Regions from separate parts of the Homo sapiens genome. Here region 1 is linked to region 2. The links are contacts of gene promoters, found by promoter capture Hi-C in human tissues and cell types (Jung and others, 2019). All regions are on one chromosome and are shown on one strand. The core of a region is centred on a gene start or on the middle of the fragment in contact, and the rest is flanking DNA. Distances in the headings are between cores, read along the strand shown.

Region 1 (6,647 bases), core at 1,685-4,184, 1.2 Mb before region 2:
CATAGAATCTTAAAGTGCATTAAATTAAGGTGAATCTAAGCAGTATTAGTGAAACTTAGCTCAGAAGCAGTCATTATCCTCCAAAGTACTCTATTATGTTGAATTAGTAGAAATATAGATTAAACTATGTACAACCAAGCAGTAAACAAGCTAAGAAACAGACTCTCCCCTCTTAATAAGTGTGAAATGGTCAGATAGAGCAGATAAAAATAACTTAGAGCCAAATTACATGAATCTAAGCAGTATTAGAGAAAATAATCTTACAATCACACCTTGTTCTCTAAATTTCCTTATTTTTTTGTGACTTACAACAAATTAGGATGAACCTAGGCAATTTAAATCAGAGTCATCTCCCTATGGTGAATTCAATTAAATATATGTGAAACTAAACAGAACAGTTGAAAACAGGCAGGAAATCACACTTTCAACTAAGGTTCAGGTCCAGGTTCAGGAACATCTCAAATGAAATGTCCATTGTGTGTTAGAGCATATTTAGATGAAACCAAGCTGTTTATGTCAAATGAGTTCAGAATCTATCATTTTTCCTGAATGAGTCAGGGTTCTCCAGAGAAACAGAACCAATAGAATGTGTATGTATATGCGTATACACACACATGCACACACACATATGGAGATTTAGTATAAGGAATTGCTTCACACAATTATGGAGGCTGGCAGGCTGGAGCCCCAGGGGAGCCAATGGTGCAGTTCCAGTCTAAAGGCAGTCTGCTGAAGAATTTCCTCTTGTTCAAGGAGGCTGGTCTTTTTGTTCTATTCAGTGAGGTGAGGCAAATCTGAAGGCGAAGTCCAGAGTCAGTGTGAGTGTGAAGGTCAGGTTCATGGTTAGGACCAGAGTGAGTGTGAGAGTGAGCTGGAGGTACAGGGTCAGAGGGAGAGTCAGTGTCACAGTCAGGATTAGGGTGTCAGTGTCAGAATCATTATGAGAGCGTAGTAAAGGAGTCTGTGGCAGGGTGTGGGTAGTGAGTTGGTATGTAATGTGGGGTAGGTCACGGGGTATTTGAGGGAGTAAGTAGAGAATGAGTATGGGTCAGAAAGTAGTGAATGGGTGGATTAGTCCATTTTCACACTACTATAAAGAACTACCCAAGACTGGGTAATTTAAAAAGGAAAGAGGTTTAATTGACTCACAGTTGCACATGGCTGGGTAGGCCTCAGGAAACTTACAATCATGGTGGAAGGTGAAGGGGAAGCAAGGCATGTCTTACACGATGGCAGGAAAGAGAGAGGGGGGCAGGGAACTGCCAAACACTTTTAAACCATCAGATCTTGTGAGAACTCACTATCATGAGGACAGCATGGATGAAACCACCCCCATGAGCCAATCGCCTTCCACCAGGTCCCTCCCCTGACATGTGGGGATTACAATTCGAGATGAGATTTGGGTAGGAACACAGAGCCAAACCATTATCAGTGGGTGTGGGCTGCAAGGGTAGGCACTGAATGGTTTACAGGGGAGAGGTAGGTGGTGTGTGGGTGATTGTCAGAGCATAGGTATTGAGTGGATGTGAAGCAAGTGGTGTAGGGAAGTGGACACGGGGCTGAGAGCATGTGGTATGTTGGAAGGTAGTGTCTGTAAGGGAGGGTTGTAGGTTGTGAGTGAGTGTGGAACCGGAGGGGTAGCTATTTAGAAATCAGAAGTTAGAGTCTGGCACTTGTGAGTACTATTGTGTATTTTGGAGTACTTTGGAGTACAAAAGATTATTTGACAACAGTTAGTGATTCTATGTTGGCTTCAGAATTCTAGATTCTACTTAATTTGCTCTAACTGGCAATAAGAAGGATCTTTTAAGAGCAATGTGACAATGAGCTCATTTACACGAATACTGCTTTTGATTCATTATAATTCTCCCAAATAGAAATAAATCTTTGAGGCTGGGCGCGGTGGCTCACGCCTGTAATTCTAACACTCTGGGAGGCCAAGGTCGGCAAACTGTCTGAGTTCAGGAGTTCAAGACAAGCCTGGTCAACATGGCGAAACTACGTCTCTACTAAAAAAATACAAAAAGGTAGCCAGACGTGGTGGCACGCGCCTGTAATCCCAGCTACTCAGAAAGCTGAGGAAGGGGAATCACTTGAGCCTGGGAGGCAGAGGTTACAGTGAGCCGAGATCGAGCCACTGCACTCCAGCCTGGGTAACAGAGTGAGACTCTGTCTCGAAAAAAAAAAAGAGAGAAAAAAGGAAAAAAAAATAAACCTTTGAGTACTTTTAAAATTTTATTAAGGACAATATGTGATTTTGAGATGTCTTTCACATATAATGTTTCCATTTGTCTTAGCTCTAAGTACAGTTTTGATGACGGTGTGTTTCTCATCTTTTATTATTATTATTATTAAAGCTTACTTTCATGTCAATTTATTCTAATAAGCAATAACAAATTGAGGCCAAGGGCAACGGCTCACTCCTTTAATCCCAGCACTTTGGGAGGCTGAGGTGAGAGGATCACTTGAGGCCAGGAGTTCAAGACCAGCCTGGGTGACAGAGGGGGACCCCATCTCTACAAAAAAAAAAAATTAATAACTAGCCAGGCATGGTGGTGTGTGCCTGTAGTCCCAGTTACTTGGAAGGCTGAGGTGGGAGGACTGCTTGAGCCCAGGAGGTCGAGGCTGCAGTGAGCCATGATGATGCCACTGCACTCTAGCCTGGGTGACAGAGTGCAGAGTAAGACCCTATCTCAAAAAAGAAAAAAAAAAAAGACCAGAGGGAATTCTTCAGCAGGCTGCCCCTTTGGACTGGAACTGCACCATCGGCTCTCCTGGTATATGTATATGTGTGTATATATATACATATACATCAGCTATATATGTGTGTATATATATATACACACATATACATTGGCTGAATGTGTATATATGTGTGTGTATATTTGTATATATACCTGTGTGTGTGTATACATATACATATACAAATACATAAACACATACAAATTCTGTTGCTTCTATTTCTCTGGAGCACTCAGTCTCATTCAGGAAGAATGATAGATTCTGAGCTCGTTTGACATAAACAGCTTGGTTTCATTTAAATATGCTCTAATGCACAATGAAACATATCATTTGAAATATTCCCAAACCTGGACTTGAACCTTAGTTGGAAGCATGGTTTGCTGTTTTCAAGTATTCTGCTTACTTTCATATACATCTGATTGAATTCACCATAGTGAGTTACCTTAGATATGAATGTATGATTCTGACTTAAATTGACTAGGTTCATCCAGATTTGTTGTAAGTCACAAAAAGTAATGACCGTGACAGTGACACTAATCATGAAGGACATCCTCAATGTCAACTCACTCTCATCTTCTCCTTGACCCTGAACCTCACGCCCACCTTTACCCTAACACTTTCTGGCCTTGAGCCTGACCTTTATCCTCAACCTGACCCTCAATGTGATCATAACCCTTATCCCAACCCTTGCCTTAAACCTGACCTAAGCCTCATACACTGGACCTGAATTGCACTTGACTCTCTCTTTCTCAATCTCCCTTTCATCCTCAGCTAGACCTCACTCTCCCTCACTCTCACCTTCACCCTGACCCTCAGTTTCATCTTGACACTTGCCCTTGACGCTAAACCAGACCCTCATCATCACTGTTGTCCTGACCCTACCCTGCTCACTCATCCTCACTCTGAGTTTATTCCTCAGATGGACTCTTACTTTGACACTGACCTTGATCTCACTCTCATGCCCACGCTCACACTCACTGTGCACTTGCTCTCACTCTGACTTTAATCCTCACTGGGACCTACTCTGATCCTAAATCAAACACTAACCCTCACCCTCAGCCTGACATTAACAGTGACTCTGACCCTCACAGCATCACTCTGGCCCCACCTTTACCCTAAATCACAATCCCCTCCCTTTTTGAAGACAGGGTCTCGCTCCATTGCCCAGGCTGGCCTCTAATTGTTGGACTCAAGCAATCCTCAGCCTCCTGAGTAGTTGGGATTACAGGCATGCACCAGGACATTTGGCTTCTAAATCACATCCTTAACATCTCTGTGACCCCGACTCTCATCCTCACCTTGATTCCGACCTGAACCAAACACTCAGCCTGCTCTCTCCCAAACCCCAACCTTGATCATCACCCTAATTCTCAACCTCACCCTCACCCTAGCCCCCATTCTCACTTCATCACCTCAATCTGACCATCACTCTCACTTTCAATCTGGCCCTGACATTCACCCTCACATTCACCCCTTTCTGACTCTGACCTTGACCCTCAATCTCACTCTGAGTCTGACTCCCCTCCTCCTTTCACAGCCGCTGACCCTGACACTCATCCTTACTCCAATCCTCCTGATGATGCAGATACGGATCATCGCCCTGACTGTGTGACGCTCACTCTGGTACCATCACCTGAGCCTGTCTCTCACTCTCATGTTGAACCTCGAAGTCTAAGGTTGAAGTTCATGCCCAAGATCAAAGTCAAGGGTAAGGGTTAAGCAAAGACCCTCAACCATACATTTCTGTTAACTACAGCTTATTTCTTGTTCATATAACTAGTAAGAACTACTGACAAGTAGAGATAACAAGATAACCCATACTAACTAGGTAACTAGACATAATTAGAATAACTACAGTATGTAAAAGAGAAGCTCCAGGACATACATGTGTCTCAAGTTATCACTAGTTATCTATTTAGCAGTAGTAGTTCAAAAAAGAAGTTAGAGTTGGAGTACTTTTGAATGCTTTTGGAATATTTTTTGGAATATTTTTTAAGATTCTTTGGAGAACAATTCTGAGCTGATTTCACAAATCCTGCTGAGTCATTGTAATTCCTCCATATAACAATACATATTTTGAATGCTTCTGACTACATTTGTAAATTTATTAAGAACAATATGGGATTCTTAATGTGGTAATATATTGAGGCTAAAAAAGAAAAAAACCAATATGGGATTCAGAACTCATTTTCACAAATATCATAAATAGCTCTGACAAATAATAAGACGAAGGTGTCTTTATCACCTGGTTTGTTTAAAGTTTACATTAATATCAATGTATTCTAATCAGCAGTAAATCTAGTAAAATGTCTGAACTTGTGTTTACTAACACTGCAGTATTAGTCTTTTTTTCCTTTCTTTTTCTGATTTGGCTTCTTCTTCTCTTTCTTCTTCTTCCTTCTCCTTCCTTCCTTCTTCTCCTTCCTTCCTTCTTCTTTCTTCTTCTTCTTCTTTTTTTTTTTTGATACAATGTCTCGCTCTGTCACCCAGGCTGGAGTGCAGTGCAGTGGTGCAATCTCAGCTCACTTGGCTCACTGCAACCTCCGCCTCCTGAGTTCAAGCAATTCTCGTGCCTCAGCCTCTTGAGTAGCTGGGACTATGGGTGCATGCCACCAAATTTGGCTAAATTTTTGTATTAATATTCTTAGTAGAGATGGGGTTTCGCCATATTAGCCAGGCTGGTCTTCAACTCCTGGCTTCAAGTGATCTGCCTGCCTTGGCCTCCCAAAGTGCTGGAACTACAGACGTGAGCCACCATGCCTGGCCTGCTTTGGCTTCTAATTCATTAAACACACAGTATTAGTCTTACAAAAATTTTTTAAAAGATATATATAATATTGAGCTTTAAATTAGACTGCTTATTTTTACAAATACTGACTGGATTCATCTTACTTTGATTTGACTAGCAACGAGAAGGTTCTTTGAGAACATGTATGGCTATGGGCTCATTTACACAAATACTGCTTTGATTCACTATAATTGCTTATAACTCCCAATAAGAGAAATTCTAAGATCTTTGAAGTTTTGAGCATCTTAAGTACTTTTGAATCCTTTTGAAGATTCTTTTGAGAACACAGGCGATTCAAGCTCATTTTCATAAATGCTCCCTAGCTACATTTAATTTGGTCTTACTTACAGAAGAAAAGTGCAGTTGAGGCAAATGTGTGTTCTTTGGCTTTTAGCTCATATAAAGGTGATATTTATCTCAATTCATTCTAATAGAAGAAATTTCACATTTAAGCATTTTAACCATTTTAAGTTACACAGAGTCATTCAGTACATTCACAATATTGCCCAACCATCACCATTATCTAATTCCAGAACGTTTTCATTTTTTGTTGTTCTTTTTCTATTTATTTTCTCATTTTAAAACTTCTTTTTCCTTTTATGTGATTCTCCAATTAAGACATCCCGTTATGGCAATTCCAGAATATTTTCATCGCCCCAAAAGGGAATCCTGTGCCCATTAAGTGGTCATTTTGCATTTCACCTTTCCACTAGACCCTGCTACTAATCTACTTTCTGTCTCCATGGATCTGCCTATTCCGGACATATAAATTCATTTAAGTGGAATGATACAGTGTATGGTCTTTTGTGTCTGGTTTCTTTCACTTAGCATAATGTTTTCAAGGTTCATCCATGTTATACCATATATCAATACTTTTATGGCTGAATACTATTTGATTGTATGGATTTATCATATTTTGCTTATCTGTTCACCAACTGATGAACATTCGGATTGTTTCCACCTTTCAGCTATTCTGAATAGTGCTGATGTAAACATTCTATAAAAGTTTTTGTTTGAACACCTGTTTTCAATTCTTTGGGGCATATAGCTTGGAGTAGAAATGCTGGGTCAAATGCTAATTCTATGTTTAACTTATTAAGGAACCACCAAACGGATT
Region 2 (6,150 bases), core at 1,204-3,703:
GAATCCTTTGAGCCTGGGAGGTGGAGGCTGCAGTGAACCATGATTGCACCACAGCACTATGGCCTGGGTGACAGAGCGAAATGCTGTCTCAAAAGAATGACCACTGTAGAGCTAATAACTTGGCCCTGCCCTCAGGGAACTTAGGGTCTAACTAGTAGCCTAAAAGGTACACATGAGTACAAGATGATGATTATTAAAGAATGGAACAGGAGCGTCTGATCCAGAGTCAGAGGCGGGAGAGGCCACATGGATGTGGGGGATCCCAGAGGCTTCCTGGAGGAGCTCAGTGGTGGATGTGGCTAGGTGGGTGGGGGCAGGAGAAGGTGTTCCAGGGGCAGCAGCAGGACAGGCAAAGGTATGGAGTCAGGGCAGGTAGGAAGTGGGTGTGCAGTGGGGCAGGAATGGTGGGGCTCCCAGTCCAGCTGAGGCAGAGGTGCTGGGGGAGTGCTGAGGAGGTAATAAAGGGAGTGGGCTGTGGAGGTCTCCATGTCAGCCCTGGGAGTTTAGCCCAGACCCTGAAGCAGGAGGGAGCCACTGAAGAGTTCGAGCAAGGGCATGCCCAATGAAAGATATTTCCAGGTGGCTGGAAGTCAGTGATGGGTGGCAACTATCCAAAGAGGGAATAGAAAGAGAGTCCCTGTAGGTATTAAATAGGTGGGAGTTAGGGGACCTGGGCTCCATGCTGACATGCTGGGACCACAGGCAAGCCCCTTACCTGGAAGGGCCTGCTTCCTCCTCCCTCTTCTATAAAGGCCCTTTCAGGTCATGACTGAATGAAGTGAGGTGGGGGAGGAGTGGCTTGGTTTAGTTAGGATCTCTATTTTCCACTTTGCTTTGGCCTTGGACACCTGACCTAAGGTGGGTCCATCACCCACGTTACCTCAGCTTCAGGCCCACACAGCTTACTCTGAGGTTGCCCCACACCTCAGCTTTCTGAAACAGTATGTCCCATAGAAGAGAAGACATGAACTTGGCCCACTTTCCAGCTAACTTGAGAGAGAAACTTTGCCTCTGTGCCTCAGTGTCCCCACCTGGAGGAATGGTGTGAGTCACACCTACTCTGCAGGGATGGCATGAGAAGCCATTGAGATAATGCCTTTAAAGTGCCAGGGGTAGAATCTCTGTGCTCTCTGGGAGTAAGTGCTGAATTAGTGGCAAATGTCTTTCTTGTTATTATTCCTATTGTGTGTTTCCTGTGTGGGACTCTGGGCTGTAAGCTCTTCATTGGCAGGCACAAGATCTGACACCCAAGGCTAGTGCAACTCTGCCAGGTGGGTCATGGGAACTGTGACGTAGGCCTGCCTGGCCCAGGAAGCAGCCCAGATACTGACACACCCTGAGTGTGTACAGCGTCAATCCTCATGGGACTGCCCAGCACACGAGTCCCTCGTCCCTCCCCAGGCACCCAGTGCGACAGGCACCCTCACCCAACCAAACCCACCAGGATCTAAACTAAATTCTTCCTCCTTTTCTGTTCAAATTTATATAATTATTTTTGGAATAAGTAGTACATTTAAACTTTTCAAAATTTAAGACACCAAAAATGTGCCATAAAAAAAAAAATCTCCACCTCAGCACACAGCTCCTTAGGTCTGCTCCCAAGAGACAACCACTCTAAATTCCCATTAAAATAATCAAACTTAATTGCTTCCCCCTTACAAAAGTCATGAGCATTCAGAGCAAAAGCTAACTTAAAAAAAAAAAAACCACCTTGGAACACACAAAAGTACAAACTGAAAACCTCACCCTCAATGCTGCCATTCAGAGATACTCAGCATTTTAGCGTATGTCCTCCTAGACTGCTTTCAACGCACATCCACTTTACAAAAAATGAAAACAAAATGCAAGAAGAGATTCACAATATTGATTTTTCAACATCTCACTAGAATCTCAGAAATGTTTCCTCATACCTTCTTCCTTAAGTGACTTTAATAGCTCTGTGATCTTCCACAGACAATGATTTATTCAAGCAGACCACAGAGATGGGCATTTGGGATTTCTACATTTTCCTTACTAGAAGCAGCAGTGATGGATGGGCCCTGTGACTCCACTGTAACAAATTCCTAGAAGAAATGCTGGGTCACAGGATATGACCACTTTTTAATATCCTGGCCTAGACCCCTAGATACCTATCACAAACCGCCCTCTAGCCAACTGCCTCGATCAGCAGGACTAGGTGTCCAACCCAAATTTAGAGCTATTTAAGAAAAGGCCAAGAAGTCTTGGTTCATAACCGTCTGAACAGCAGCTGTGAGGGCCTTAATCCCACCTCCAAATCCAGACTAAGGCCAAAGGCCTCCTCTGGGCTGGCAACCTGCCTTGTTTACCCAGCCACAGCCCTCACCTGTGCCCATCCCAGTCCAAGGTGAGTCAGCTGAACAGGGGACAGGCACCACCCTTCCCAGATCAGGAAGCCAGCTGAGAGACAGGGCTACGTTTCAGGGAGGGAAACAGATTCAGCAGCGGCAGCAGCTGGAGAAGGTCGTGGAGCAGCACCTTGCCTGCAGGTAAGCGCTGGGGGCCCTGACCCAATCCTGGCTGGGATTGGGATGAGTGAGACCTGCTCTCACCCTGTCCCCTTCCCTCCCTGCCCCTTCCCTTCTGGGACTTCCCAGGCAGCTTCCTTTCGAAGTGCTTCACTCCAAGCAGTCAAGTGTGAAGTGGGGTTTCTTCTTCTGATCCCAGCCCTGGACCAAGTTTGATTAAGGGCTGAGTGATTTTCTTCACCCAGACATCATGAGGGCCCCCGATGCCTTCTGACTGCCCATGACTGTGCTCAAGGAGATGAGATCCACACTTTGCTCCTTGAAAGGCCAATTCCAGCCGAAACCAGAGGCTGCAGGCAGGCAAAAAGCCCATTTCTCCCAAGGAATCCACAGCTCAGGCCGACTTCTCTGGCCTGAGGCTGTTTCTATCAAAAAACCTTCCTGCCACAGCACTGAAACACCTGCTGGGGAACTGCGCCAGGGGCTTCACCTTTCTAAGAACTGGTTTCTTCATCTGGAGACTGAAAATAGCCCACAAAGTCAGGAGAATGGAAGGACATACTGGACACAGGAGCCAGTGCATGCCCTCCTCAGCAGGGTCTCAGAAAATGGGGCAGAAAACGAGCCTGGTATGGGCTGGGCGAGCACTGGACAGGCAGCTTCACGTACAGTGGCCCAAGCTCATGACAATTCCACCACCATCACTTCCCACCTGGGCTCCTGCTCCCACTCCTGCCCTGTAGCCCATCCTCCAAACATCAGCCAGAGGAGGCCTGTCAAAATAACCCTTGGACCTTGGCACTCTGCTGCTACAAATCCCCCAGTGGCTCCCATCTCACTACAGTAAATGCCAAAGTCCTCACCATGACCTCCAGGCCCTCCAGGATCTGGCCCCTCTCACTTCTCCAGCTTCCTCCCCACTACTCCTCCTTACTCCCTCTCTGCACAACTGGCTTCTCACTGGCAGATGTCCTCTAAACACAACACCAACTCCCACCTGAGAGGCTCTGCAATGGCCGTGCCCACCCCATTAGGCCTTTCCTCAAATGTCACCCCACCCAGCCAGCAAGGCTTCTGAACCTCCTGACATGACCCTCCGTCCTGCTCTTTCTCTCCAGTGCCTCCCACCATCTAACACAGCACACAGAGTCACAAAGCCTATTTATCCAGCTCTTCCCCCAAAGAAAGTACATTTGGGGACCAAGTCTTCTTTCCTTCACTGCTGATACCTAGAACAGTACTCAGACTTAGCAGGTGCTGAGTAAGTAAGCGCTGAAACAATGAATAAACAGCTAACTTTTACTGAATGCCTATTATGTGCTAGGTGCTGTGCTAAATGCTTTCCATATACACCTTAACTCTTTTTAAAAATCTTTCAGTCTCCAGACAACTGTGATGCAACTATTGTTATCCAGATTACAAAGGAAGAAATGACATTCAAAGGGGATTTGCCTATGCTGTGCTCTCACAAGTCAGAAGCAGTCAGTCTGAACCCTGCCCTGCCTGGGCCTGGGTTCAGGCGTGTCTGCTTGAGGAAGTCACAGCTTTTCCCCAGCAGGCAGTGCAGCACTGAGAGGAGGAGTGGGGGTACATGCTGGTGGCCTAGCAACAGCTTCTTCTATTCCGACTCACCACATCCCTGGGCTAATTTGGCCTTCCAGGAGCTATTCCTCTGACACTCTAACCCACGCTTCCCTCCCGCGCACTGTCTTGTAAAGGACGGATGAGCTGTCCACAGGAACGAGTGGGAGTTCCATCACTTCAGCTCTTTGGAACAAAGTGTTCCAAAGAGTGTTCTCACTCTAAGTTCAAAGATGGGGGCTGAAGTCCCCTTGTCAGCCCTGCTGATCTCCGAAGCCCAGCTATTGGTTTGTTGTGGGTGTTGTTATTGCTTATATCAAAAAGTACAGAAGCTCAGGGATGGAAATCTGGAAAGGGCTGTGGGAGAGGAAAATTCCTCTGAGAGAGAGGGGTTAGGTGGGTTCTTTTCCTTTCGGAGGAACCAATTACTTGTGGGAAGCCATCAGCACAGAACTGAGCAAACTTCCACTGTCAGATTATAGGAGCCAGGCAGCCTTTCAACCTAACTCGTTAGGGCCATGGTTTCTCTCCTTTTCCAGGCCCAGGTTATTCTTCGAAAGACTTTCTACTTATTGACTGCAAACACAGACAGGCATGGGAAGAAAGACTGTATATTTAGGATATCAGGCTTTCTCTTCTCTCTGTGCCTGCTTTTCCACTCCTTTCAGAAATAGTAATGGGATGCCTGTTGTGTGCCAGGCACTGTGCTCAGCACTGGGGGTTAACAAATGAGTGACATTTCCTGACCAGTGAGGGAGATGAGCAAACAAACACAGCACAGTGGAAATCCAACCTAGGAAATGCAGAAGGCCTTGCTCATAGTAGGTGATTAACAAACACTTGTGGAATATATGATGAAGAGGCAAATACAAGAAATGCTGTCGTCTAGAGAAGGGAGGCTTGCCAATCTCCATGCGTACAGGTGGGGGAAAGCTTTAAATTGGAGGAAAAAGAGTTCACAACAAGGAAAAGAGAGAAGGCATGAATGACTCTTAAGACAGAGGGAATAGCACCTGCAAAAGCATGGAGGCATGAACTAGCAGGCTGACTTTTAGGACTCAACCTAAAGTAGTCTGGAATAAATGAACTTCATGATAAGTGTGGAGAAGAATGAGATGGTGAGAATGGAAACATTACCAGAAGTCAGGTCACAGAGATTTGAGGGCAAGAAGTAGGTATGGCTTCAGAAGGGAAAGGGAGGAGCTGAGGATAACTCCCAGATTTCTGACATAGCCCATGGGTGGATTCAGTGAGACCGCTGGGGAGGCGCGGCACAGCTGGGGAAAATCACGAGTCCAGTTTGGATAATCTGCGAGGTAAACGGGATCCAGAAGGCAACTGGACTCTCAGGCCTGGGCCTCCCTGTCCCTGGAATAGCACACTCTCTTCCCACTTGAACATCCATCCTACACGGCCCAGTCAGGGTCTTCTTCCTTCCTCCAGGAGACCTTCCTGATTGCCCTAGCCTTCCTCCTATACGCCACATCCAACTGCCTGAGTCCCTCATAACAGGCTTTCGGTCTGATTTTGCTGTGGGAATTGATTTGCCCGGCCAAGCCAAGAACCCTTCCCTAGGCAGCAGAAGCCCAGTCACTCAGTCACTGGTGGGTGGGACGCGGGGTGAATCTGCGTAGGGTGGGGCGGGGCATTTTTAGCTCAACACTGGGTCAGAAGTCACGGCCAGACAAGAAACGGGTGAGAAACGGGGGAGGAAGGGTGACGTCACAATTGGTAGGAAATACCTTGGGACTTGACGCTTTCGAAACCAAAGGGAGAGCAAAAGCAGCCGGGAGCGCGCGGGCCGACCTGGTTCTCCTCCCTTCCCACGGCTGCCTTAGTACAGAATCTTATAAGTCCTCCTCCTTCAGAGGCTACAAATGGTGTTCCGAGGCCAGGGGAGTTTAAAGCTCGATTTCACCCGCGCAGCCTCCAATCCGGTAAAGAGGGGCCGCGGAGCCCGACCAAGTCTTCCTATGCCTTACTCTGCTGCTTTACCTGATCTATTTTTGTGGATGCCGGCGCCAGCTACGGGCGCCCGGAGAAAGCACGAGGCCGGGTGGACTCTGGTAACGCAAGCGGCAAG

What was found. Contacts are between HindIII fragments. The study calls those that stand out against the background at their distance.
Region 1: a contact is called between a fragment that was not itself captured here and the fragment with the promoter of SDCBP2 in region 2, in 1 of the 25 tissues and cell types used here (hippocampus).

What each region holds. Positions count from the first base shown.
Region 1 is chr20:2,513,561-2,520,207 of GRCh38, reverse strand. It overlaps a transcript of ZNF343 not described here. Among named protein-coding and RNA genes, the nearest start is that of ZNF343, 8.0 kb to the right of the region's middle. The HindIII fragment of the contact is 4,270 bases long and covers 800-5,069 here.
Region 2 is chr20:1,325,442-1,331,591 of GRCh38, reverse strand. It overlaps SDCBP2 (syndecan binding protein 2), which reads left to right and starts at 2,453. Exons shown (of 9, transcript NM_080489.5): 1 at 2,453-2,507. All of the region lies in intron 2 of FKBP1A-SDCBP2 (FKBP1A-SDCBP2 readthrough (NMD candidate)), which reads left to right. SDCBP2-AS1 (SDCBP2 antisense RNA 1) reads right to left here. Exons shown (of 3, transcript NR_040049.1): 1 at 6,063-6,150. RefSeq lists enhancers at 5,673-5,967, 5,958-6,150. The HindIII fragment of the contact is 26,056 bases long and covers 1-6,150 here.